Linked DNA regions of Homo sapiens: region 2 is linked to region 1. The links are contacts of gene promoters, found by promoter capture Hi-C in blood cells and fetal thymus (Javierre and others, 2016). All regions are on one chromosome and are shown on one strand. The core of a region is centred on a gene start or on the middle of the fragment in contact, and the rest is flanking DNA. Distances in the headings are between cores, read along the strand shown. Region 1 holds the start of FOXR2 (forkhead box R2). Region 2 overlaps KLF8 (KLF transcription factor 8).

What was found. The method cuts DNA at HindIII sites, captures the fragments that hold promoters and counts their contacts. A CHiCAGO score of 5 or more calls a contact.
Region 2: a fragment that was not itself captured here is called in contact with the fragment with the promoter of FOXR2 in region 1 in 4 of 17 cell types (total B cells, megakaryocytes, naive B cells and 1 more); the score reaches 8.1 in total B cells.

Annotation. Positions count from the first base shown.
Region 1 is chrX:55,618,918-55,625,869 of GRCh38, forward strand. FOXR2 (forkhead box R2) reads left to right here and starts at 4,483. Exons shown (of 1, transcript NM_198451.4): 1 at 4,483-6,952. The coding sequence starts at 4,795. The coding sequence ends at 5,730. The HindIII fragment of the contact is 3,852 bases long and covers 2,540-6,391 here.
Region 2 is chrX:56,245,831-56,252,782 of GRCh38, forward strand. It overlaps KLF8 (KLF transcription factor 8), which reads left to right. Exons shown (of 6, transcript NM_007250.5): 2 at 4,401-4,474. Among named protein-coding and RNA genes, the nearest start is that of KLF8, 17 kb to the left of the region's middle. The HindIII fragment of the contact is 703 bases long and covers 2,944-3,646 here.

The DNA of each region.
Region 1 (6,952 bases), core at 3,233-5,732:
TGGGAGAAAGATTAACAGCATAAATTGTCAGTAGTGTAATGGGGTCCTTCCTCAAGGGGACTCGGCCTCCTCTTCATTCAAGGGGTTCGGGTCTGTAAACTGGCTCAAGTCTAGAAATTGATTGAGAGGCCGTGATTTTCTGTTTTCATAATTCAAATTAGTCTTTTGTCCATTCGACCTAGAAGTTTTCTGCTTATATAAATTAAGTAGGAATGCAGTAGGCTTCCTATCAATTTCACTTCTAGAACACCATGATTAATTAGCCAATGCCAGAGCGCTCTCTATCTGTCTCCCCACCTCTCTGTCTCGCTATATATACACACACACACACACACACACACACACACACACACGCACAAAGGGGAGTTTACTAAGTATTAATTCACACTATCACAAGCCCCACAATAGGCCATCTGCAAGCTGAGGAGCAAGGAGAGCCAGACCGAGTCCCAAAACTGAAGAACTTGGAGTCTGATGTTCTAGGGCAGGAAGCATCCAGCATGGGAGAAAGATGTAGGCTGGAAGATTGGGTCAGTCTAGTCTTTTTATGTTTTTCTGCCTGCTTTATATTCTAGCCACACTGGCAGCTGATTAGATGGTGCCCTCCCAGATTAAGGGTGGGTCTGCCTTTCCCAGCCCACTGACTCAAATGTTAATCTCCTTTGTCAGCACCCTCACAGATACACCCAGGATCAATAATTTGCATCCTTCAATCCAATTAAGTTGACATTCAGTATTAACCATCACAGGCACCCTTGGGCTGCATGCAACCTATACAACTATACACAGCAGCCATTGGTATTGTACCTGTTTTTCTGGAACCACATATAGCTTACTCATCGTTTTTCCTGTATTCTTTCCTGATTGCCCATTGATGGAAACAAGTACATATCTATGCTTTACAAAAGACATATACTTAAAATGAAAAAAGTACCCATGAATATTTAGCAGTTTCGTATATAAAAGCAACAAATCTTAAATATCCTATGGCATTTTTTTTTTTTCATTACAAGTACCTTTTTTTCTTTTTTTTATAAGAGAAAAGGTCTTATTCCACTGACCAGGCTGGAGTGTAGTGGTGCCATCACAGCTCACTGCAGCGTTGAACTCTTGGGCTGAAGCAATCTTCGCACCTCAGGATTCTGAGTAGCTAGAACTACAGGCGCATGCCATCATGCACAGCTGATTTTTTAAAAAATTACAGAGGCAGAGTCTCACTCTGTTGCCCAGGCTGGTCTCAAACATTTGGCTCCAAGCAATCCTCCTGCCTTGGCCTCTCAAAGCACTGGAATTACAGGCATGAGCCACTGCACCCAGCCCACAACTACCTTTTTTACTTTTAGGAGTATCATCATGTACTTACAGCATTTAACAGACTAAAATAGTTTCAATTAATCATAGCATATGTGGTAAAATAAAAAGTTACAATTTGGTAATGAGAGCCCCTTTAAGGTGACTTTTCATCCTTTCAACACTGCTCCTGACATTCTTGAAAGAATTTTTATTGTAACAAGAGTCTTTATTAATATTGCTGACTTTTTTCTGCCCAAAAATGTGTATCAGCTACCCTCCTTATCAGTCCTTTGAGTGGGGACCAAAATCTGGGCACAGGAATGCTTTTGAAAATTGAAGGCAGGTAACAGCACTGCTTCTACTGCTGCTCCTGTTGTTGGGTGTATTAGTCCGTTCTCACACTGCTATAAAGAACTACCTGAGATTGGATAACTTATAAAGAAAAGAGGTTTAGTTGATTCACAGTTCCACAGGCTGTACAGGAGGCATGGCTGGGGAGGCCTCAGGAAACTTACAATTATGGCAGAAGGTGAAGGGCAAGCCAGCACATCTTCACATGACAGCAGGAGAGAGAGAGAGCAAAGGGGGAAGTGCTACACACTTTCAAAAAAACATCTTGTGAGAACTCAATATCATGAGAACAGCAAGGGAGAAATTCATCCCCATTATACAATCACCTCCCACCATGTCCTTCCTCCAACATTGGGGATTACAATTCAACATGAGATTTAGGTGGGGGACAGAGCCAAATCATACCATTGGGACTGCGTGTGTGTGTGTGTGTGTATGTGTATAAGAGAGCAAGCATAAGCATGCCCATGCTGAAGAGGTATTTCTAAGGTCATTATGAGTTCCCACCACTTTTTCCAACTTTTTATGTTGTTGTGCCATTTTTTGCTTATAACATATGGTTTCATCAACCGCTGACATTTTTGCCTATATCAACACTCGGGATAGGTTGGGACCTGGGAAACAGGCTACCCACAAATATGAGTTTCAGTACTTTTCCAGAGCATGTGCAAAATGTCCCTGTCTCCTTTCCTGGAGCACACTTAAGCAAGATTGGGTTCTAACATGTGTTTGAGATTAACGGAGGCCATCTTTTGATGGTTAACATCTTACTCTAAAACTCATATAGTTTTATGGGTTTTGCTTTGTATAGTACATATACTGTGTTGAATGTGTACCTGGTTGGCATGTGCTAGCCTGTTCTCCATATCTCTGCTTCTGGGTAACATGTCTTTTAAGCTTAAATAATATCTTCCATGGGATCCCTTTTGATTCCTATTATCTGGGTTAAGTTGTTCCTCTCTATGTTCTTCTATTGAAGTATCTAATACTCATCACACTGTATTTTAACCTTTTGTTTACTTCTCTGTCTTTCCGCATTACTCTGTGATATCCTCTTGGGTTGTGTCTTACTCATCTGCCAGATCTATTACATACTTCTTGGAACATGGTGGATGCTCAATACGTAAATATTGAATGTTTCTAAATGAGGCCCAAAGAAACAATACACAGTGATAACTTGGTTTTACTAGCCAATATCTAAGGATTGGAGCACTCTCCCAGGTGAAGATGGAGGAGAAATTCTGTAACACTAGAGCCCCCATTTAAGGAATAAAAGACTGCTGAGCACTAAAATGCTTCCAGGCTCTCCGTGGTTGGCATAATAAGCTAAATATTTCAAGTTAATCTCCTGCTTTTCCAAGATCAGTGCCCCACTGGAAGGAGATCCATTAATTCCCTATGGGGAGATGGAAGCAGCGTTTTTATTAGAGAAGGCTTTCTGTTGTCTTAAAAGATGAGTAGAGGTTAGCTAAGTCAAGGCAATGGGTAGTAAGCCATTTTAAGCGAATGTTTTTGAGCAAAGGGACATGAGAAAAAAACGGGTGTGTGGTGAAGATCCCAGCATTTCAGTACTTTTTGGACGTGAAGTATGAAGCAAGAAAGCTAGGGTGTTAAGTTACCCTGGAAAGGTAAGCAGGGGTGAGATTTTGGAGGGACTTTTATGTTGCATTAAGTTATAAGATTTTATGTTATAACACCAAAATAGAGAAGATTGGTATAGTTAGTAAAAGCATGTGTTCTGCAGTCAGGTTGCCTATGTTTGAAAGTCAGCTCTGGCCTTTACTAGCTCTGTGACTTAGGCTTTTTTGTGCCTTATGTTTTTTACTCTGTAAAGGAAGAATAATAAGAGTACCTACTTCATAGGATTATTTTGAAGATTTGAGTTAGAGTGCTTACAGCATTCTGTAATAATTAACAGTTGGTACAACTGTTGTGTTGTTTTTTGTATTTATGCTGTAGAAAGACAACTCAGGCCACTTGTATGAAAGATTAGAGTAGAAGAGAACCAGAGTATGGAAACAATATGGAGATTAAAGTGCCTCTCCAATAGCTCCCATTGACATTTGCTGGATATGTTTGCAACATAGTCCTATGTAGTGATTTTAATGATATCGCATACTTTACACATGGATTTTGTGCAAACTGAATTAAAGGAAACCTTGCCATTTTATTTTTCTTACAAATGTCCTGGGTGTGAACTTACTGGAAATAGAACCTCTGGGGCTTTCAGGACCTTGCATACTGTGGCTAAATTTTGGTCCTACTGTTCAGAGTATAGTTCAGAACTCATTTCCTAAGAAGGTGACCTGGAGAGAGGAAAGCCAGCTGTTTCCCAGAAAAGGATTGAAAACGGCAGCAAGGTTAGATTCTAGTATCAGTATGAGAATAATAGAGGCCATGTTCTGATAGTTACCATCTTACTATAAAACTCAGGTTGCACATATTACTGCCTGTTGTATATCGTATGTTGAGTATGATCAAGAGGCAATGCGTATAGTGAAAATAAAAGATCTGGGCTGTGGATCTAGCTCTCCTACTTACTCATGTCTGTATATCTCAGTTGCCATGTCTGTGACATGAGGATAATAATACCATGTTATCTTGCAGGGCTGTGATGAAAATCAGTTGAGATCATCTATGTGAAAGCACTTAACCAAAATCCAAAGGCACTCGATGAATGAAATGATTTTTAAAACCATTAAGGAAGACTCAGAAATATAATGTGATCTATACATATGTTTGTCCCTTCCTTAAATGAACTCATCAAGGGTTTAAATATGTGCCAGATGATCACCTATTATGCAAGTCACCATAGTTTGCACATAATTCAGTTTATAATTCCTCTTGAAGTGACTTTCTGCTTCCAATCAAAGCTCAAGAATTCCACCTAAAAATGTTTTTCTGCTCAAAAGCTCTTTTTTATTACTTCCATGTTTTGAGCCTTGTTCCAGAAAGCTGAGGTTTCTCCAGGTCTGACCACTAATCAGTGAGACATTGGTGCCTCTTTCTTCAGTGCTTCTAGCAGGCCTACTGATAAGCTCCCTAGATGAGATACACTGCATAAAAAAATGATGCCCAAAGGACAGCTTTAAGTGCCTGCTAGATATCTGTTCTTTCAGAAGTCTCTCTCCACCTATCTCTCCAGTAAAGATGGACTTAAAACTAAAAGACTGTGAATTTTGGTATAGTCTCCATGGCCAGGTCCCAGGGCTGCTGGACTGGGACATGAGGAATGAGTTATTTCTGCCTTGTACCACAGACCAGTGCTCTTTAGCTGAGCAAATCCTTGCCAAATACAGAGTCGGAGTAATGAAGCCCCCAGAAATGCCTCAGAAGAGGAGACCCAGTCCTGATGGAGATGGTCCTCCCTGTGAACCCAATCTGTGGATGTGGGTGGACCCCAATATCCTGTGCCCCCTTGGCAGCCAGGAGGCCCCAAAGCCCAGTGGAAAAGAGGATCTGACAAACATTTCTCCTTTCCCTCAGCCCCCACAAAAAGACGAAGGGTCTAACTGCTCAGAGGACAAAGTGGTAGAGTCTCTGCCATCTTCCTCCAGTGAGCAGTCTCCTTTACAGAAGCAGGGTATCCATTCCCCCAGTGACTTTGAGCTCACAGAAGAGGAGGCTGAGGAACCAGACGACAACTCCCTCCAGTCCCCTGAAATGAAATGTTACCAGAGCCAGAAACTATGGCAAATCAACAACCAAGAGAAGTCCTGGCAAAGGCCCCCTCTCAATTGTAGCCACCTTATTGCCCTAGCATTAAGAAACAACCCCCACTGTGGCCTCAGTGTGCAGGAGATCTACAATTTCACCCGACAGCATTTCCCCTTTTTCTGGACAGCTCCGGATGGCTGGAAGAGCACCATTCATTACAACCTCTGCTTCCTGGACAGCTTTGAGAAGGTGCCAGACAGCCTTAAGGATGAAGATAATGCAAGACCTCGCTCTTGCCTTTGGAAGCTCACTAAGGAGGGGCACCGCCGCTTTTGGGAGGAGACTCGTGTCTTAGCCTTTGCTCAAAGGGAGAGAATCCAAGAGTGCATGAGTCAGCCAGAGTTGTTGACCTCTCTCTTTGATCTTTGAAATGCCATTGCTCCCTTTTGGAACACTGCCTTCCTTACTGTGCCTACTTATCCCCTGACATTCATTAATCTCTAAACTTACCCAGCCTGGTTGGTGCCAAGTCTGTCTTTAGCTACTGTTACAATAATGGTGTTAAGTAAAGTTAGAGGTGGGTACAGGGGAGACAGAACTTAAATCCAGGTGGAGAGTCATGGAAAGTCGCACGAGGAGAGTGGCTGTTGTTCCAAATTTTGAGCAAAGGAAAAGAAATCCTAGAAACAATGGCATAGAAACTAAGGAAAGAAGGGTGTGTTTTGTGAAAGAAAGGAATTTTGTTTATAGAGAGTATTTTCACACATGAAAGTGAACAGTGGAATATAAAGCATAAAAGGCAGGATGGAGCCGAGCCATGGAGAACCTCGAGTGCCATGTGAAGAGAATTTGACTTGTGATGAAGAATCAAGTTTCCCCTTCTACCATTCATCAGCTACATCTCCTTTTTAAGTAACCCATTTTATCCTTCAGAACCTCACTTTTCTATTTCTGGCCCTGGACTTCTAAGCCTTGTTTCTTTGTCATCCAATTCCAATATTGACAAATAATTCTAAACAGCTACTTTTAGTTTGTATGTTTAACGTCCTGTGAAATATTCCTGTATTAACCCCAAGCCTTTTGATGATAAAGCTTTATTTTCTATTATTTTTAGTTCTCAAGATTTTATTGAGGATATGCTAATGTGTCAAGGTCCATCTTAGATGCTGAGGATAAAAAGCTGAGGGATACTAGTGGGAGACATATTTATAATGTAAATATGATGAAACAGATGTGAGAAATTGACATGGAAATGGGGAGACATTCTTCCTGGGAAAGACATGAAAGGGCATTGGAAAAAATACATTTTGAGCTAGTTTTGAAGAATAAATGGCAAACTGGAGTAGAGGCATTACAGAGACAACAATGTGAACAAAGTGGATGGAGTGTTTGGGGGAATGGCATGAAGTTCAGTGTGACTTAACTACATGAGGACCGTGAGTGACTAAGAGAAAACTATTAGGTGTTTGGACTTCATCTTGTGGGTTTTTAGGAGCCAAGAGACATCAGTGGAGTTTTGCTAAAAAACAAAAAAAGAAACAAGCCAGCAGCAACAACAAACACTACAGCATTTGTTTTTCTAATTTCAAAATTATCTTTAACATCTTTTCTATGCAAATAAACTTTTGTTTATCAGATTTAAGCATAGCTT
Region 2 (6,952 bases), core at 2,045-4,544, 630 kb after region 1:
AATTCCAACTCTAGAGAAGAGCAAGAGGCTCATAAATCCCTCTTCAAAAAAAAACAGAGCCTTCTTTAAGACCTTCTGTGGGCCTTAATTTTCTTCAGTTTTCAATTTTGCCTGGGTAAATATTTTTTAAAATTAAATTTAAAAAAGGAGGTTATATACCTTCCCAGTATCTTTCCTTATAGTCATTCCTACCAATATTTAGAAGGTTGACCAGGATTACCTAATGGCTATTCCATTTGGCTGTTTTCTGGGTGAGGGCACTAGCCAGAAATGGCTGAGACATTATTAATTGTCAGCTCTCCCTCTTATACTATTTTACTAAAATATTTGTGATATAGGAGGGCCAAGAAGTATTTTTCAGGCTCCTTGATTGTTGCTATTAAAGCTTTTGAAGATGGGCAGTTATAGTTCTGGATATGGCTCTATCTTTCCTCATTTCCCTGATCATTCATTCCTTTATTCACTGGACATTAGTACATAGTGTATAGGAGATGCTCTGCTAAAAGATAGGGATACAAAAAAAGGAACAAGACTAGGTAACTATTGAAGGGCTCACCTGGTGGTGAAGGAAACGGACAGTTCCTCTTTGTGCCAGGTACTGTTGTAAATACTTGAACATATATCAACTTGATACATCCTCATAGTAATTCTGTGACCTGGTACTATAATTATTCCCATTTTACAGATGAGAAAACAGACACAGGAGGCTGGAAAAACTTTGCCCAACTTCTTACTGTTAAGAAGTCACAGAATCAGAATGTGATTCTAGGCACTCACTCCAGAGCCCACATGTTTTACTACACTTTGAGAGCAATGTGGAGTATTGACCAGAAGGGGAAGGAAGTGACTATGAAATGATGAAGGGCTAGATTTAAGAGATATATCTGCAGGAGAATTATTATAGCTGATAACCAACTGGCTGAAGATAGGGAGAGAGGAGTCAAAGGTGGCTGACCCCTAGGTTTTTAGACTGATAGACTGGGTTTATGGTGGTGCTAGAAATTAAGATTAGAAATATAAGAGGTGGAGCAGGTTTGTGAACTCATGGGGTATAAAAGTCCTATTTGATACACAGGACAGATTCTTTGGGCCAGAGTTCAAGATTCTGATAATCAACAATAATAATGGTGGTGATAATAGCTAACTGAGAGTGTTCTATATGCCAGGATTTGTTTTAAGTGTATTTACATGTACAGTTATTCATCCCTTAATGAAGGGGATATGTTCTGCAAAATACATCCTTAGACAATTTTTACATTGTGTGAATATCATAGAATGTACTAACATAAACCTAGATGGTATAATCTACTACAACCTAGGCTATATGGTATAGCTTATTGCTCCTAGGCTACAAACTTCTATAGCATGTTACTGTACTGGACACTGTAGGCAGTTGTAGCATAATGGTGTATATTTGTGTATCTAAACATAGAAAAGGCACAGTTAAAATATGGCATAAAAGATTTTAAAATGGTGTACCTGAACACCACTTAACATGAAGGAAACTTGCAGAACTAGAAGTTGCTCTGAGTAAGTCACTTAGTGAGTAGCGAGTGAATGTTAAGGCCTAGGACATTACTGTACCTTACTTTAGACTTTTTAAACAGTGTACACTAGGCTACACTAAATTTATAAACAATTTTTTCTTATAAATTAACCTTAGCTTACTATAACTTTTTTAGCTTAAAACACAAATCCTGTACAGCTGTACAAAAATATTTTATTTCTTTGTATTCTTATTTTATAAGCTTTTTTCTATTGTTAATTATTTTTTTTTTGCTTTTTACAAGTTTTTGTTAAAAACTAAGACACAAAGACACATCAGCCTAGGCCTATGAGGGTCAGGATCATCAATATCACTGTCTTCTACCTTATATCTTGTCCCACTGGAAGATCTTCAGGGGTAATAACATGCATGGAGCTGCCGTCTGGTATGACAACAATACCTTCTTCTGGGATACCTCCTGAAAGACCTGCCTGAGAATGTTTTATAATTAACTTTTTTTTAGTAAGTAGAAGGAGTACACTCTAAAATGATGATAGAATGTATAGTGTAGTAAATACAGAAAACAATAACATAGTCATTTGTTATCATTGTTAAGTATTACATACTGTATATAATTATATTGACTGACAGCACAGTCGATTTGTTTACACCAGCATCACCACAAATACATGAGTAATGCTTTGCACTGTGACATTACAGCGGGTATGATATCACTAGGTGATAGGAATTTTTTAGCTCTGTTATAATTGTATAGAATCATTGTCGTATCTATGAGAACACTTGGACACAGGAAGGGGAACATCACACACTGGGGCCTGTCATGGGGTGGGGGGAGAGCGGAGGGATAGCATTAGGAGATATACTTAATGTAAATGACGAGTTAATGGGTGCAGCACACCAACATGGCACATGGATACATATGTAACAAACCTGCACGTTGTGCACGTGTACCCTAGAACTTAAAGTATGAAAAAAAAAAGAACAGTGTCGTATCTGTGGGTCATCGTTGACTGAAACGTCATTACATGGCATATGAATGTATTAACATGGAATGTTCACATTAACTCTGTTAAGGCAATACCGTGTTACCCCCTCTTTTGGCAGGTGAAGAAACTGAGGTTCATAGAAGCTAATATAGCCTCTCAGAATCACTCTGCTTCCTCAACTCTGCTGTCTCTTAATCCATAGGAATCGAAGAACAGATTGGAGTTGGCTGTCTTAAGTTGTACTTGCTAGAAATAATGAAGCCTGTTGAAGGTGTTGTGTGAATGCAGAGGGAGAATCGAATCTTCTCCACTCCTACGCATGGTTCTGGCAGCAACAAAGAAAGCTCTCCTGGCGTTTTGGTGCCCCCCTGTGGGCTGTATGAGAGTTACCTGACCTCACATTCTTTTTCCACCATCACACCTCCTTTTCCTGTCTTAGAAATCAGAAAAAGCTTAGCTACCCTCTCTACCACCTCTCACTTCATAGTTAATTACACCTCAGGCATCTTTCATGCATAAATTCTCTAATTTTCTTTCGTTCTTTTCCACCCTTTTCCAATTTCTGTACTTGAGAAAACACATTCCCTCACTCTCCTTTTCTGTCACTGTCATCAAAAACCTTCGAAAATGTGATTAAACACCTACCATGTACCAGGCAATGTTCTAGGGCCTTGGAATACATTAGTGAAAAAAACAAAGATGAAAGTATCTGCCTGCAAGGAGCTCAGATTCTATTGGAAGTCAGTTTTCTTAATTCTGGCTTCTACTATTCTTATTACTTACTACAGTTCCTCCATTAACCTGTTAAAAGAGAAACTTTAGACAAATTACACTTAACAGTTTAATCGAGCAAAGAATGATTCATGAATCAGGCAGCCCCCAGAAGAAATAATAGATTCAGAGCAACTCTGGGGCTGCCATGTAGTCAGATAATATTTATGGACAGAAAATGGAAGTGAGGTACAGAAACAGCTGGATTGGTTATATCTCAGTATTTGCCTTATTCAAACACTTTGAGTTGTTGACTGCCTGTAATTGGCTGAAACTCTGTGATTGGCGCAACAGTAGATTACACTGTCTACACATCCAGTTAGGTTATGGTTCATTATGGATGGGGAAACCTTTAGGCTGAACTTGAAATATGTAAGGAGGAAGCTTTAAGCTAACCTTAATTTAACAAACCCCACCCCCAAGTTCCATGGAAGCCTTAGGGTTCTGCAGAGGATAGTCTGAAATCTTTTAATCATAGATGGACAAGTTGTGGCTTAGGAAAAAAAAGGCCTTGCCAAAGATTATGGGATGTGAGTGCTGCACATCTAACTCCCAGAAAATCTGGTTGAGGAAGAAAGCTAGTAGGTGCTTCTAGTATGAATGACTGATGGTTTAAGGCAGCTGAATTAAGACACTAATTCCTTTTTTTAAGAGGAAAAACTAAAGAAGAAAGAGAAAACTGTTTTTATTACCCCACCTGGCTTGCAGATTTAAGAGACGTAGACAGATAAAATACGTCTCTAGAGAGATTTGGCCTTGATGTGTAAATAAGTTCACTCGGGTAAATATATATATAGGAGCTTGGAACTCCTTCAAGCAAGAACTAGACCAGGAAGGTAGAATACTGAAAACTGTAGCTATACTGATGTTCCTCTGAAGGCAGAGCATGTTGGAGAAATAGGAAGAAACAGATTACCTGCATGCAGTTTGGTGGAGGGGAGCAGCTAATATTATTGGGGAAAAGTTAGGTCCATCTTGATGAGTAAAATAAATCAGAAGGTTTCAATGACTTATCAGTATCTGGTAAGCACTGAAAGATAAAGGTCATAGAACACACATAACATTAATGGCATATTTATGCATATAGTGGGTTAGATTTTATTCTGAAAGTTGTCTTTTCCTTTTCTCTTTTCCAGATATGGATAAACTCATAAACAACTTGGAGGTCCAACTTAATTCAGAAGGTGGCTCAATGCAGGTATTCAAGCAGGTCAGTTATCAGGAAAATAGGGTGCTAATATTGGGCCATAATAGTATTGAATACCTGGTAGTGATTACAGAATTTAAACTCATTTTTCTTTCTATAACATGTTTGGGGATTGAGAAGAGGTGAAGGAAGACATATTTCTAGAAAGTATATGAATGCCTTGGTTTCATAGTCAGCTGGGGAGTAGATCTGGCCTAAAAGAAACATAGCCTCTGGAATCAAGGCTATAAAGACAAGAGTAGACCTTTAGTAGACAATAGCAACTATTTATATAGCACTATTTCATATTTCAGATAGGATGAAGATTAAATGCATTGTCTTATTTAATCTTCACCATAATCCTGTTGAACAGTGTATTAATTAGTATTCTCCAGAGAAACAGAACCAACAGGATATGTGTGTATGGTGTATGTGTGTGTGTATGCATATATGTACATGGAGAGAGAGAGAGAGAGAGATTTCAAGAAATTGGCTCATTAGATTGTGGAGGCATGGCAAGTCCAAAACCCCATCAGGGGTAGGCCGGCAGGCTGGAGATTCAGAAGGAGTTACAGTTTGAGTCCAAAAGCAGATTGTGAGAAGAATTCTTTCTTGCTCTATGGAGGACAGTCTTTGTTTTAAAAACTAAGGTCTTCAACTGATTGGTTGAGGACCACTCACATTATAGAGAGTAATGTGCCCTATTTAAAGTACAATGTTTTAAATGTTGGTCTCATCCAAAAAAATACCTTCACAGAAACATCTAGAATAATGTTTGACCAAATATCTGGGCACTGTAGCCCAGCCAAGTTGTCACATAAAATTAACCATCATTATTCTTAGTTTCCCCATTTGATGGAAAATAAAACTGGCCTTGAACACTCCAAGAATTAGGATTCGAAACAGGTTATCTGGATTTTATGTCCCAGGGCTCTGTGCTAGATGTTGAAGTCCCGTCTTTCTTGGGGTTGCAAATTCACTGCATGAGTGAAACTCAAATACAGTCAAAATTAACCTTGAAAATCCTTAAATCACCTATAGACTTGAGTATACAGTGTTGTATATACAATACTTGTCTGTTTCTTTATTTAATTCATCAGATAAAGTTGGTTACATTTAGGAATCTTTTTGTTATAATTTCAACTTTTATTTTATTTTTTGAATTTTTATATATTTATTTATTTATTTATTTATTTATTTGAGACGGAGTCTCGCTTTGTCACCCAGGATGGAGTGCAGTGGCACAATCTTGGCTCACTGCATCCTCTGCCTTCCAGGTTCAAGCTATTCTTCTGCCTCAGCCTCCTGAGTAGCTGGGACTACAGGCACGCACCACCATGCCCGGCTAATTTTTGTATTTTTAGTAGGGACAGGGTTTCACCATATTGGCTAGGCTGGTCTCGAACTCCTGACCTCATGATCCGCCCACCTCGGCCTCCCAAAGTGCTGGGTTTATAGGTGTGAGCCACCGTACCTGGCCTTATTTTTAATTTTTGTAGGTACATAGTAGGCGTATATATTTATGGGATACATTGAGATGTTTTCATACAGGCATGCAATGTGAAATAATCACATTATGGAGAATGGGGTATCCATCCCTGCAGCATTTATCCTTTGTGTTACAAACAATGCAATTACACTCTTTTAGATATTTTTTAAGTGTACAATTAAGTTATTATTGACTCTAGTCACCCTATCATGCTATCAAATAGTAGGTCTTATTTGTTATTTCCAACTTTTTTTTGTTTTTGAGATGGAGTCTCTCTCTGTTGCCCAGGCTGGAGTACAGTGGTGGCTTCTCAGCTCACTGCAACCTCCGCCTCCCAGATTCAAGCAATTATCTTGCCTCAGCCTCCTGAGTAGCTAGGACTACAGGCACATGCCACCACGCCCAGCTAATTGTTTGTATTTTTAGTAGAGACAGGGTTTCACCATGTTGGCCAGGCTGGTCTCAAAATCCTGACCTCAGGTGATCTGCCCATGTCGGCCTCCCAAAGTGCTGGGGATTACAGGAGAGAGCCACTGCACCCAGACAATTTCTAACTATTTTTTCGTACACATTCACCATGACCACCTCCTCCTCAACACCCCACTGCCCTTCCCAGCCTCTGGTAACCATCCTTCTACTCTCTATGTCCATGAGTTCAATGGTTTCGATTTTTAGATCCCACAAATAAATAAGAACATGTGATATTTGTCTTTCTATACCTGACTTATTTCACTGAACATAATAATCTCCAGTTCCACCCATGTTATTGCAAATGACAGGATCTCATTCTTTTTATGGCTGAATAGTACTCCATTGTGTATCTGTAACACATTTTCTTTATCCATTCATCTGTTGATGAATACTTAGGTTGCTTCCAAATCTTAGCTATTGTGAATAGTGCTGCAACAAACATGGAAGTGCAGATATCTCTTTGATATACTGATTTCCTTTCTTTTTGGTATATACCCAGCAGTGGGATTGCTGGATCATATAGTAGCTCAATTTTCAATTTT